Regions from separate parts of the Homo sapiens genome. Here regions 1, 3 and 4 are each linked to region 2. Evidence: promoter capture Hi-C in 16 types of primary human blood cells and fetal thymus (Javierre and others, 2016). All regions are on one chromosome and are shown on one strand. The core of a region is centred on a gene start or on the middle of the fragment in contact, and the rest is flanking DNA. Distances in the headings are between cores, read along the strand shown. Region 1 has its middle 8.2 kb from the start of SLC12A7. Region 2 holds the start of LPCAT1 (lysophosphatidylcholine acyltransferase 1). Region 3 overlaps NDUFS6 (NADH:ubiquinone oxidoreductase subunit S6). Region 4 has its middle 32 kb from the start of TERLR1.

Region 1 (2,927 bases), core at 170-2,669, 400 kb after region 2:
GCGGGCAGGGGATTCCCATCTGGGAAGGGTCCTTCCAGTCATCCATGGGACAAGGAATGTCCTAAGGCTTCTGGAACTCCCCCTTGTCCCTGCCTGCCACTCACTGGCTGTAAGCCCTTGAGGTCACACTGCCTCTCTGGGTCCCACAAAGTGGCATGGATCCTTCCTGTGCCCACCAATGCCGCTGCCTTCTCTTTCCACGATTACTTGAGGCCATATGCTTAAAGGACCTCTCAGCAGCATTCCACCGGAGAGGAATGTGAGGGTGACGATCCTGCTTGGGACTCGGCTGCAGGGGGATCCGCACACGGGCGCTGATGTCGGCCCTGCCCCCCAGCAAGTCCATGAGCTTTCCCGTGGGCCTCAGGGGCACAGCCCTCCACAGGCCAAACCCCTGCCAGGTGGCACCACTGCTGTCTGGGGACCGACACAGGGAACTCCACGTGTAAAGTCCAGGCCTTGGGACGGAGACAGCTGTGTCTGGGGACCACACTGGCCAGACACTTGGTGATAAATATTTGCTGGCCTGGACTCTTCTTCACAGAGAATGTGACAGAAACAGCCCAGCTGTCCCACTGCCTGCAAGATGAGGGATGCGGGGACGTGCAGGAGGCAGCTTGGGGAACGGTGGCGGGCAGCAGGAGGGTTGGGTGGACTCAGTGTCAAGGTCAGGATGCACCGAGTCTACCGTGCAGCACATGCTCTGAGCCACTCTTATTTCCTCTGAGTGAGGTGCAGCTGGCACCCAGGGAGCAGCACACATCTTAAATCTTTGCCGGGTGAGCTCCGAGCTCGGGCAGGCCCAGGAGCCCTTCGCGTCGAAGCGTGGCCGTTCCAAGCCCTGGAAGCCGTCTCTGCTGCACAGGGACTGCCGTCTGTGCTGGTGTGCACCCCAGGGTGAGTCCTGCCTGCCCTTGAGCTTCACGTAGACAGCATCATGCCGACCTCCTCCTGCCCTGCAGCCCACGTGCGAGATCATCCCTGGCGTGTGTGGTAGACACTCCCTGAAGGGACACGCCATCTGTGGCCCGTCGCCCACTGCCCTGCTGATGGGAATGTGGGCTGTGTCCAGTCTGGGCTCCCAGGAAGGCCTTTGTGTGTCTTTTGCTTAGTGTCTGTGTGTTTCTGTTGAGAGTGGGGTTTCTGGGTGGTGATGGAGGCGTGTCTGGAGTTTTCCACAGTGGCCGTGCATTCCACGGACCTCCAGTTGTGTGGGGAGGTACAGCGGCTGTGAGCATCTGGCCAGCACACCGTGGTGTCCCCGGCACACTGCCGACGGCGCGCGTCCCCCGGCGAGGTGGCATCTCCACGTGCTCCTCCATGTTAGTTCAAGTCTTTGCCCTCTTGTCCTCCGGGTTCAGCGTTTCCTTGCTGGTCTGTAAGCCGTCTTCGTGTGATCCGGACACTGCCGGTGGGGGGGCCCTGTGGACGGCAGGTGCCCACCCAGCTGCACCCGGGCTTGCTCCCCTGCCCTTGAGAGCGTCTTCTGAGAAAGAGAAGTGTGTCATTTTAGTGAAGACCACTTTGTCAGCCTTTCTCTTATGAAGAGCATGTTTGGGGCTGTGGCAGGGTCTGCAGCCATGATTCTGAGTGTCAATCTGTGCTCTCTGGCTTTGGGGCCGTGGAGGGTCCCCTCAGCCCCAGGGGGATCCACTGCACTCTGGGGGTGAAATTCAGGGGACCTGGTCAGGCCCTGCCAGCTGGGCAGAAAGGCCCTTGAGTGACCCCAATGACAGGCTGTTGACCTATGGGGGGGTCCCAGCTGCCTGGGCCATGGTGACACCTGTGCGCCTTCAGCCAGCTCAGACTGGATTTTTGCGGGGAGGCAGAAGCAGCCACAGGGGGCAGGTGGCCTGAGGGGAGGCCTGAGGCTACAGGGCCCAAAGCTGGGCACCGCCCCCCAGCCTGCCCATCACAGGACAGCGCCGGTGGACCCCATTTGTCCATTGCCTGGAAGGAATCGGGCGTGTTCTGGTCTGCACCCTGACATGCAGCCCTCCAGAGCCACCGCGTGCCTGGGATGGGGCTGTGTGGGTGGGGAGCCTGGCACGGGGTGGCTGAAAGGGTGCTGGGGAGAGGAAGGTGGCTCAAAGTCCGTTGTTCCCGTGCTTCCTGAAACGGTCGCTGCCCGACGGTCAGGGCTGAACCTCACCGCCCAACCAGGACCACAGCACCATGGGCGGCGAGCCGGCCGCACACAGCTGGAGGGGGTCATGGTGCAGCCAAGGCAGCACCAGAGCTTTCCAAAGGGCTTGTGTAACCTCGGCGTCACCCGGGCAGGGATGTGTGCGTGCCTGCGGCGTCCCCTGGGAGCTGGGGCCCTAGCGGGTGTCTGGGTACTGCTGTGCGGGGTGGGATCACGGGGTCCTCACCTTTAACGAGTGCTGGCCCTGATGAGCAAGTCCAGAAAACTCACCCCAAAAGGGCTCTGGGAAAAAGTGGCGGTAACTGAGGCCGGGCTTTGCAGTCCAGGTTCCCAGCTGAATGTTTAGAAAACGCAGGGGAGGTTGTGCAGGTGCTTCTCTGATCCCAGCAGAAAGCTGTAAAATGCAAAGCTGATGGCAGAACTCAGCCTTCCAGCGCTGCAAAAGCGACTCTGGCCCCTGCCTGTGTCGGCTCTCATCAGGAGGGCTTCGAGCTGCTGCAGACTGAGGGTGAGCACACCAGATGCGGGGCCACAAAACGAGGCAGGGCCCTCCTTTCGGGAGCAGTCGTCTGTGCCCCTCCCTCTCCCCCAGAACATTCCTCTGGGGAGGTCTGGCTCTGGGTGCTCAGTGTGGGTTGTGAGCCCCTCCCGCCGGGAGGCTGATGTCAGCGCCAGCTCTGCCTCTCCCGCCAGCCGGCCCAGAAGTTCAGCGAGACACGCCCACACCTCCCACAGCCTTGGAAGAAGCCACCAGAAACAACCTTGGTACCTGCAAGGCTGC
Region 2 (3,128 bases), core at 515-3,014:
ACACAGCCATGACTCTCTGGCAGCTCTCCCCATTGAATCTGGCTCTGCACCATCTCCAGCAGGTTTCCCCTCCGCCACACACCGCTTCCTGGCCTGTGCTTCTGGGAGGACCCCACTTTCATGGCTCTCCAAGTCCAGTCCTGAGGCTGCTCTCATCCCAGGACTGGGACACCCTAGGGCCCCTCCTCTCCAGAGCACTCAGGCAGCAGGTGGGGCCGCCTGGATCGCTGGGGTGCAGGTGCTGCCCTGTGGCTGGCAGGCTTTGTGTCCTGGGCTTTCTTGATGATCAGTTCGGTGAGGAGCCTTGGGTGGCCTCGGGTGCTGGGCTCTGGTTTTGGGGATCAGAGCAAGTGGCCACTAAAAGCCCAGGAGGTGGGTGCAACGCTGGTGGCTGGGCCACAGAGCCACCAATGCCCACCAGCACACAGGGCTCACCCCATCCCCGTGGGTGTGGCACTTGGGACAGGTGCTGCTGCTAGGCATGGGCTGGGACTCTTATGGGGCAGGAATATGGGCTGGGACTCTTATGGGGCAGGAATAAGGCCATGCAGCGGGTCTGGCCTGCCGGGGCCTTCTCTGTGCATGATATGTGGATGGCACAGACCCCTGGCCCTCACCCCGGTCTCAGACACAGAAGGGTCTCTGCCAGCCCGCTGCACTATGAGGTCCACAAGGGCGCAGGCAGGGTCATTGGAGGGGTCGGGGCACTCCCTGGCGTCTGCTGAGGATGGGGCCCAGCTGGGGCCAACACAGCAGTGACATCCCCAGGAGCCAGGACCCTGGGGGGTTGGCCAGGTGGCCCAAACCGGCTCTGTCTGGGTGAGGTCCGTTGGCCATGAAGGAACCAACAGGGCCAGCCGGGGTGAGGAAGCCGTGAGCACTGTGACCGAAGGCCTGCGTGAGTTCTGAAATCCAAGCGTGTTCACCCGGAGGCAGGAGCCCATCCTACTCTCGCTCCGGCTAATTATGGGCCCCACCCTGGGGCTCCTCACACGGCTCCTGAGCACCACAAGGGCAATGCCCGAGCCAAAGCAGCTACGGGTGAGAAAGCGCTGGGATCTCATCGCAGCCCCTGCACAACCAGCACGGACAGTCAGGGCCCCTATGTGCGCCTCCTGCCTGGGCCATCCCTGCGGGGCCTGAGGCCTGAGAGGTCCTGAGATCGGAGGGGTCCTGAGGTCTGAGGGGGTCCTGAGGCTTGAGGGGTCCTGAGATCTGAGGGGATCCCGAGGTCTGGGGGGTCCTAAGGTCGAGTGGACCTCAGGCGGGAGTCGCCTGGGCTGAGGCGCGGCTGGAAGAAGCTCCCTCAGCCCGGGGCAGCTTCCAGGGTCGCCGGTGCGAGCTAGGAGCCCAACGAATAAGAAGAATGGCGTGGGGCCTTCGCCGGAACAGCCCGGGGCTCGGCACCCAGGGCCTGGCCCGCCTTGCGCGTAAGCTGGACGCGTGCCCGCCCCTTCCTCCCTCCCCGCGAGCAGGCGGGCCGAGCGGCGGAAGGGGACGACGTGGCAGCCTCGCGGGCCCGGGGGACCTCCCTTTCTCCTGGCGCAGACCCTGCCGGGGATCCCTGTGCTCCAGTGGCTGCAGGAGGCGCCCCCGGTCCCCAGCGGCCCCGGCCCCCCACAGACCCCAGAGAAACCACCAGGTAGCGGAACTCCGGCTGGTGCCGCCCCTGCCGGCCGGCGGGAGGCGAGGCTTCCAGGGACGCCCCGCCCCGGCCGGCGCTCCCGCTCCGCCCACGTCACCTCCCGCGCCTGCGCGCCCGGCCCGCTCCAGCCGCCGCGCATCCTCGGCCCGCGCCCCGAGACCCGCGCCCAGCTAGCCCCGGCCCCGCTCGGCGCCCCAGGCAGCTCGGCTGCGCTCGCCGCGGGACGGCGCGGCCATGAGGCTGCGGGGATGCGGACCCCGGGCCGCCCCTGCCTCCAGCGCAGGGGCCAGCGACGCTCGGCTGCTGGCGCCCCCGGGGCGGAACCCCTTCGTGCACGAGCTGCGCCTCAGCGCCCTGCAGAAGGCCCAGGTGGGTGCCCAGGGCGCGCGGCCCCGGGAGCCGGCGCGGACGCCAGGGATGCTGGGGCCAGGGAGGCGCGGCCGAGGAGGGGCCGGGGAGGGGGCCTGGGGCGCGGCGCGGCCCTGCGAGCCGCGGCGCCTTCCCTCCCCGCGGCCGCCCCTCAGTTCGCGTCCCCGCCGCCCGCACCCGATGCCTCGGTCTCGGCGCCGGCTTCCCGCCGCCCGCACGCGCATCCTGGTCCCTCAGCGCCTTCCTCGGGGTCCCCGCTTCCCATCCCCGCCCCGCGTTCTGCTCCTCCCCCCAGACCCCTGCACCCTGAACCGGGCCCACAACCCTTTCTCTGCCTCCCAGAGCCCCGACCTCGGCTCCCGCGGGAGGCTGGACCCGCATCGCCGGTCCCCGCGCTCGTCCCTGGTCCGGGCCCCGCCCGCCTTGGCAGGCCCTGCGCGCAGCCCGGGGACTCCGGAGCGGCTTTGCCTGGACGCGGCCCGCGGGCGGGAGGGCACCGCGGCTCTGGGTGAGCCTCGTGTGCGGGGCCTGGTGGTGCCCGGGACAGGGCGCGCGGGCGGTGCGGGTCCCCTGTAGGGTCCCCTGTAGGCGCACGGGTCTCCCTGCTCTGCGGCCGCACGTTGCCTTCTGGGGTGCATGCTTCGCTCCTGTTGTAAGGGATGCTTTCTCGGGGCTGGTCTGACCCGAATCAACTTTATGCAACCTGGGCTGCCACGTGGGAGGGAACGGTTTGCTGAGATCCTGCGATGGGACAGTGGTGAGGGGAGACCCGGGGGCGTCGTGGGGAGGGGGCCGCTCGCTGCAGGAAGCTGCACCGGGGATGTGCTGGCTCAGCCTGGCTTTTCCGGCTACCTGGCTGCCAGCTGGGCTTACAGTTACCTGAGATCCACTCTCAAGAGGACCTTACTTTTGACTCTAGAATAATTCCTAGAAGCAAGCACTGTTTCGGGGCCTATGGGGCTGTCCGGTTTGTAGGGAGCACGCTTCCAATTGTGAGAATAGATTTCCGGGAAGATGGAGATTTGTTAATGCATAAAGTACTTTATCTGAAAGAACCCTGAAGTGAAAAGTTCTTGAGGCCAGTTTGAGCTTGTCATTTTCCCAGGACGCCTGC
Region 3 (2,893 bases), core at 348-2,847, 280 kb before region 2:
TTAGAACATCAGGCATTCTGAACATGAATGCCAATAATTATTTAAGCTAAACGTGTGTATACATGTCTATATAAGTATATAATTCTTAAATCACAGGCAAAACTGAAGTTTTCATTCAAATTAATTTTTAAACTAAGTAACTTTATAGAAAATGCTCTAAAAACCACAATTGAGCTGTCTGTACAACATGTTCAAACTTGCTTTGAGAATGTTGGAATCCAGTGACTAATTTTGCCAGTGCCTTGGAAGAGAAAGAACCACAAGACACAAAGACACAATAGAGAAGCAAAGACGAAGCTGGGGAGCTGCATGAGGGAGGAAATAAAGCCCATCTCGCCAGCTCACAAACAAAGCCACCAGCATGTGAACCTGGGGCTCGTGAATTCACAGTTCCAACTATTTTCCTCTGGGTCCTGGGATAAATAAACCTCACTTTATAACCATTATTTCTGACAGTCCAAGCCTTTCTAAAGGAAGCAAAGACCCACGGTTCTTATCCATCCAGAAGATTTCTTTTAAAATCCGATTGCCTTCACTCCACTATAAAGATGGCGTATTTGGGAGGGAAGCTCAGGAGGAGGAGCATGCAGAAGCGGGAAGCCACACAAAAGCTCTGGAGAGCAGCCATGGCGCACATCGCACCGCCCGCGTCTCAAACACCCCCTAAAGGACGCCCAGGTTGCTTCAAGACAAGAGAGACTCAGGCAAACCTCCCCTCTTAAACCCTCTAAGGATGAACCTGGAAGCAAGCACAGAGCTCCACCTCTGCCACCAACCAGATGACCTGCAAAGGCGGAGGGTGGAATTCCGAGGCCCCTCAATTCAATCTTCCTCTCACGGAGGACCTTCTCAGCCACCACTGTCTGGCTGGGGGCCTCACCCTAGCACCCATCCCCGACTCCCAGTCCTGTCTCCCACCTGGAGCTCCAGCGGCACCACAAGGGCACTTTCACAGCTCCCTCCTGGTGACGCCACCTCTTCCTCCTGCCCCCCAAGTCCTAGGAATAGTGGCTGCTTCCTGCAGCTACTGACCCCTGGGTACCTCAGCACTCCCTCTCAGCTCTCTGGTGGCATCCCTCCTGTGACCAACAGTGTGTGTGTGCACGCACGAGAGCCAACATGGTTCGGGTGGTGCTGCGCTGGCCTCAAGAGATGGCTCAATGTAGACGAAAGATGTCACAAGTTTCTTCCACTGCTGATCCGAGGAGTGCGCTTGTCCTGGGTGATAACACAAGTTACCACCACGGGTGTGCAGAGCCTCTGGAGGTGCCGCGTGGGCCCAGCCTCAGCCTCACTTGCTTCCCCACCCGAGTGTGCCCTGCCCTGCCGGCCTCTTGGGAGAAATAAGAATGAGCGACACCAGCCACAGAAGCCTCAGGGAGGAACCTCTGGTCAATTCCTGCGTGGGCCTGAAGCCACTTCCCTCTTAATTTTTTTTTAATTGTGGTAAAATACACATAACATAAAACTTGCCATCTTTACCATTTCTAAGGACACCACGTATATTCACATTATTGTGCAACCATCACCACCACCCATCTCCAGAACCTTCCACCTTCGTAAACTGAAACTCCATTTCCATTCAACACTAACTCCAAATTCACCCCCCGCCCCCGGCAACCACCAACTACTTGCTACCTCTAAGAAGCGACTGTTCTGGTCCCCCGTATCAGAGGAATCACACAGTGTTCACACAGTACCTCTGAGTACCTCACGCAGTACCTCTGAGTACCTCACGCAGTACCTCTGAGTACCTCACGCAGTACCTCTGAGTACCTCATACAGTACTTCTAAGAAGCGACTGTTCTGGTCCCTCGTGTTAGAGGAATCACGCAGTCTGCTTCTGTGACTGGCTCACTTCACTGAGCGCAACGTCCTCCAGGCTTATCCGTGTTGTGGGGCGTGTCAAGCGTTCTTCCTTAAGGCTGAATAATATTCCACTGTCCATGGACAGATCACATTTTGCTTATCCGTTCAGCTGACAATGGACCCCCAAACTGCTTCCAGATTTGAGTTATAATGAATAATGCTGCTATGACACGAGTGTACCCCGGACCCCGCTTTCAGTTCTTTTGGGCACACGCTCAGAAGTGGAACCGCTGGATTGGATGGAAGTCCTAGTTTCAACTTTTTGAGGAACCCACACGCTGTTTTCCTTCACGGCTGTGCCATTTTACATTCCCAGCAGCAAGGCACAAAGTTTCAGTTGCTCCACGCCGTCACCCACGCTTGTTTTCTGTTTGGAGGGTCTTGGTAGTTTTCCTCTCTCGTGAGCACTACTCAATTATTTCCATTAACGAAATCTACACACTCTTCTCAGAAGGATAAAACTTCACATTATCGCAACAAAACAGCACGCCAGGTAGACATTTGCACCGCGTGCAACTGCTCCTAATCCTGGTGGCACCACGCACCTTGAAGTCTGCTACTGAAGAACTGAGGGCCAGGCAGGTGAGGCCACAGGGTCACAACTGGACTCAACCCTGCCAGCCTAGGTGTCTCAGAAAACGTGCAGAATCTCGCTGACCCAAACGCCCAGCTGTGGGCTGTGCGGGTCAGGGAGTGACTCCGCCCTGCCGAGCATCTGAGGAGAGAATCCATCCCACTGGCGGGCAGATGAAGGCACAAGCTGAAGCCCCCAGCTGTTCCGTGATCCTGACACACACAGGTGGAGAGGGGTGGCACAGAGTCGCACTCAAGGGATCCCAGCCTCCTGATGTTCCGGGTTTGCTGCCTAATTCCTTCTTTTCAAAAACTAAAAGTAAAGACCTTGTGTATAGACACTAACGTTTAACTTCAGTATTTTAAAAAAATCTAAAAGTGAAGCCTGCCCTCATGGTGGTGGCGAAGGCAGCAGCAGAGTAAGGCGAACACACACTAGAGGCTTCCCTGG
Region 4 (2,953 bases), core at 400-2,899, 380 kb after region 2:
TTGAGATACTACTCTCAGCCTGGGTGACAGAGTGAGACCCTGTCTCAAAAAAGTAATTAATTAATTTAATTAAATAAAGAAGTTACAGGCAAAGGCATAAATCAGTACATGGAAAGTATACATTGATTCGGTGGGAAATGAGGGACATCTTGAAGGGGAGCAGAGAGATTTAAATGTTTTCTGATTAGTATTTGGGTGAAAGAGTTAAGCTGAAGACGTGAAGGCTTGCAGTGGGTGGAAAGAATCACTTGGCTTCAGCTGAGGGGCTGTGGAGACCAAGGTGCTGGTGACGTAGAAGCCTCCAGGAGGCGGCCCCGAGAGGACAGAGGGCAGGCAGGGCCTTCAAATGTGTGGGGACTCCTGGCGGGTCTCTCCGGGTGTGGGACCCTCGGCGGGTCTCTCCGGGTCGGAGGGACTCTCGGTGGGTCTCTATACCAGGGTCAGGCTGGATTTGGGGTCTTACCGCCACAGAGTCTGTTCTGCCGTCTTTGGATAACTATTTTGGAGTTAGTGTGGGTCAGCTGCACCTGAACTCCTAAAGGCGGGGGCGGGGGGGGTGGCGGGGTGGGCCGTGATGAGGAGAGTCCCTCCTCCCTTCTGTCACCGTGGGAATTTAGTGTTTCCTGTTGCCCTGGGTCCCCTTGTCCAAGAGGGGTGTTCCGTTCATTTGTCTGTGGGACTTTGGATTTTGTTTTTAGTTTACAAAAGAAAGGAAATTCAGACACACACTGCCACATGGATGGAGGCTGAGGACATTGTGTGAACGAAATAAGCCTGTCGATGAAAAGAGCGAAAGTCTGTGAAATATTTGAAGAGATTGATTCTGAGCCACACAGAGTGACTGTGCAGTGACACGGCCCTCGGGAGGTGGGCGGGTGCAGCTGGGCCTTAGTTCAGGCGGGCATGAGACATTTAAGATATACATTGGTCAGGTCCAGAAAGGCGGGACAGCTCCAAGTGGGGCTTCCAGGTCATAGGTAGATTTAAAAATGTTCTGATTGGCAATTGTTTGGGAGTTACTATCAATAGAAAGGATTGTCTGGGTTAGGGTAAGGGGCTGTGGAGGCCAAGGTTTCATCATGCAGGTGAAGCCTCCAGGTAGCAGGCTCCAGAGAGAAGAGATTGTATGGTGTTTCTTACCAGACTTAAGGTCTGTGTTGATGTTACTGCTGGTCGGCTTTTCCTAAATTCCGAAAGGGAGGAGGGCGGCATGAGGCATGGCCGACCACCGCTTCCCGTCGTGGCCTGAAGCAGTCTTTCTGGTTAACGTTGGGGTGTCCTGGCCCAGAGGAGGGGTCCATCCAGACGGTCGGGGAGGAGCCTTAGAATTTTATTTTTTGTTTACACTGCAGAGATGGCTTTGAACACCTCTCAGCAGGCCACCACTGCTCCCACCCACATGCAGGCACCCCAGGCTTCATTCCACGGCCAGGTCAGAGGGACCCAGGCCTGGAGGTCCGTGGTCACTGGCCCAGGTGGTCACCTCCAGGGGTCACCAGCATCTGGGCTCCCACAACTCCACTCCAAAAGCCCACCTGCTGGCAGGTCCCTGAGGTCTCATCACAGACCTGGAGACTCTCCCAGAGGAGCCTCAAGAAGGTGGGTGACCAGGGAATGGCCCCTCCTGCTGGGAGCAGGTTCCAGGGAGAGCCTTTGGGAATGAGGAGGGATGGGGCAGCCAGACACAGAAAGGTCAATCCTGCAGAATAACAGTTGCAGGCAGAGCCTGGAGTTGTCAAATTCTGGGAGACGGAGGCAGAACGGGGACTGCCAGGGGCTGGGGGAGGGGAATGGGAGTCAGTTTAATGGGTGCAGAGCTGCAGTTTTGCAAAGGAAGTTCTGGAGAAGGATGGCGGTGATGGTTTTACAGCATTGTGACTGCATTTAATGCCACTGAACTGCTCACCCAAAAATGGTAAAAATGGTAAAATGTTATGTGTATTTTATCACAATACAAAAAATACCAAAAAGAAAATGCAAGCAGACAGTAGGGGCCTAGAGATAAACTAAACCCTCCCGCACCCCCAGCCCCTTCCTTCTGCAGAGGACAGAGGCGCTTGATCCTGGCCTCTAGTTTTCTGAGAGGAGGCCAGTTTGATTAAATCAATTCACACCTAGGCAGGCTCTCCAGGGAGGGGGTCCTGTTTAATCTAAATTACTCTCTGCAAGGTGCTCTTTCAGGCCTCTTGGAAGAGATATTTTTGTCCAGGGACCTTCCTGTTTCAAATAACATCCTTTGTGAGCCCTTCCTGGCTGGTCCTGGAAAGGTCAGTGAAGGGGCTGGCAGCCTCTGACTTCCTGTGGGCAGATTCCAGGAAGGGGCAGCAAGCCTGGCCGCTAGGCAGCCTGCAGCCTCCGATGGCTCCTCAGTGCTCCAAGAGCAAGCACCTGGCCGCAATTACCCCGCTGGGCACTCGGGGCTTCTGCAGGGGCACCTCAGCTGGGAATTAGGGGGAGGGGTGACCACCCCAGCAGCTGTGTCCCCACAGGGAGGGGGTCTGCGGAACCGGCCATCATTTACTGCACAGACCGTGTGATGGACATGAGCCCTCGCTGGTCTTCCAGGCCCACTGGCAGCGGCCCCTGCCTGGCCCTTGTGGCCACTCACTGTCCTGTCTCCAGAGACCCCACACCCAAGTGTGAGGGCCGAGTTCTCGGCCAGGTTCCCTTTGAAGAAGGGGTGATCCCTGGGCCCCCTGCGGCCTCCAGCTGCTGTCCCACGCAGGCTCTCTCCAGCCCTCCAGGCCCGGCCTGGCCGTGCCGACAGCACATGCTCCTTCCCCAGCCCCGGCCCGGTTGGTCCAGTGGTGCTGGCTGCTGCTGTGGGTGCTGCACTTCCTTCCTCGGATGCAGTAAACTTCACGTTTTGCCTCAGGACGTTCCGAATCAGCCATGGGAATTGAACACTGGTTTAAAGCCACATTGGTGTCATCCCTGCTTTCTGCCGCTCGGA

The links. The method cuts DNA at HindIII sites, captures the fragments that hold promoters and counts their contacts. A CHiCAGO score of 5 or more calls a contact.
Region 1: a fragment that was not itself captured here is called in contact with the fragment with the promoter of LPCAT1 in region 2 in 1 of 17 cell types (monocytes); the score reaches 7.9 in monocytes.
Region 3: a fragment that was not itself captured here is called in contact with the fragment with the promoter of LPCAT1 in region 2 in 1 of 17 cell types (neutrophils); the score reaches 7.0 in neutrophils.
Region 4: a fragment that was not itself captured here is called in contact with the fragment with the promoter of LPCAT1 in region 2 in 4 of 17 cell types (total CD8 T cells, total B cells, monocytes and 1 more); the score reaches 6.4 in total CD8 T cells.

The regions. Positions count from the first base shown.
Region 1 is chr5:1,118,800-1,121,726 of GRCh38, reverse strand. It overlaps a transcript of SLC12A7 not described here. Among named protein-coding and RNA genes, the nearest start is that of SLC12A7, 8.2 kb to the right of the region's middle. RefSeq lists an enhancer at 2,174-2,707. The HindIII fragment of the contact is 6,930 bases long and covers 1-2,927 here.
Region 2 is chr5:1,522,596-1,525,723 of GRCh38, reverse strand. It overlaps LPCAT1 (lysophosphatidylcholine acyltransferase 1), which reads left to right and starts at 1,764. Exons shown (of 14, transcript NM_024830.5): 1 at 1,764-2,014. The coding sequence starts at 1,880. RefSeq lists a cis regulatory region at 372-607 and silencers at 1,377-1,776, 1,797-2,106, 2,377-2,576. The HindIII fragment of the contact is 5,602 bases long and covers 1-3,128 here.
Region 3 is chr5:1,805,998-1,808,890 of GRCh38, reverse strand. The region is part of intron 2 of NDUFS6 (NADH:ubiquinone oxidoreductase subunit S6); the gene reads right to left. Among named protein-coding and RNA genes, the nearest start is that of NDUFS6, 6.0 kb to the right of the region's middle. The HindIII fragment of the contact is 5,373 bases long and covers 1-2,893 here.
Region 4 is chr5:1,144,855-1,147,807 of GRCh38, reverse strand. It overlaps a transcript of SLC12A7 not described here. Among named protein-coding and RNA genes, the nearest start is that of TERLR1, 32 kb to the left of the region's middle. The HindIII fragment of the contact is 9,090 bases long and covers 1-2,953 here.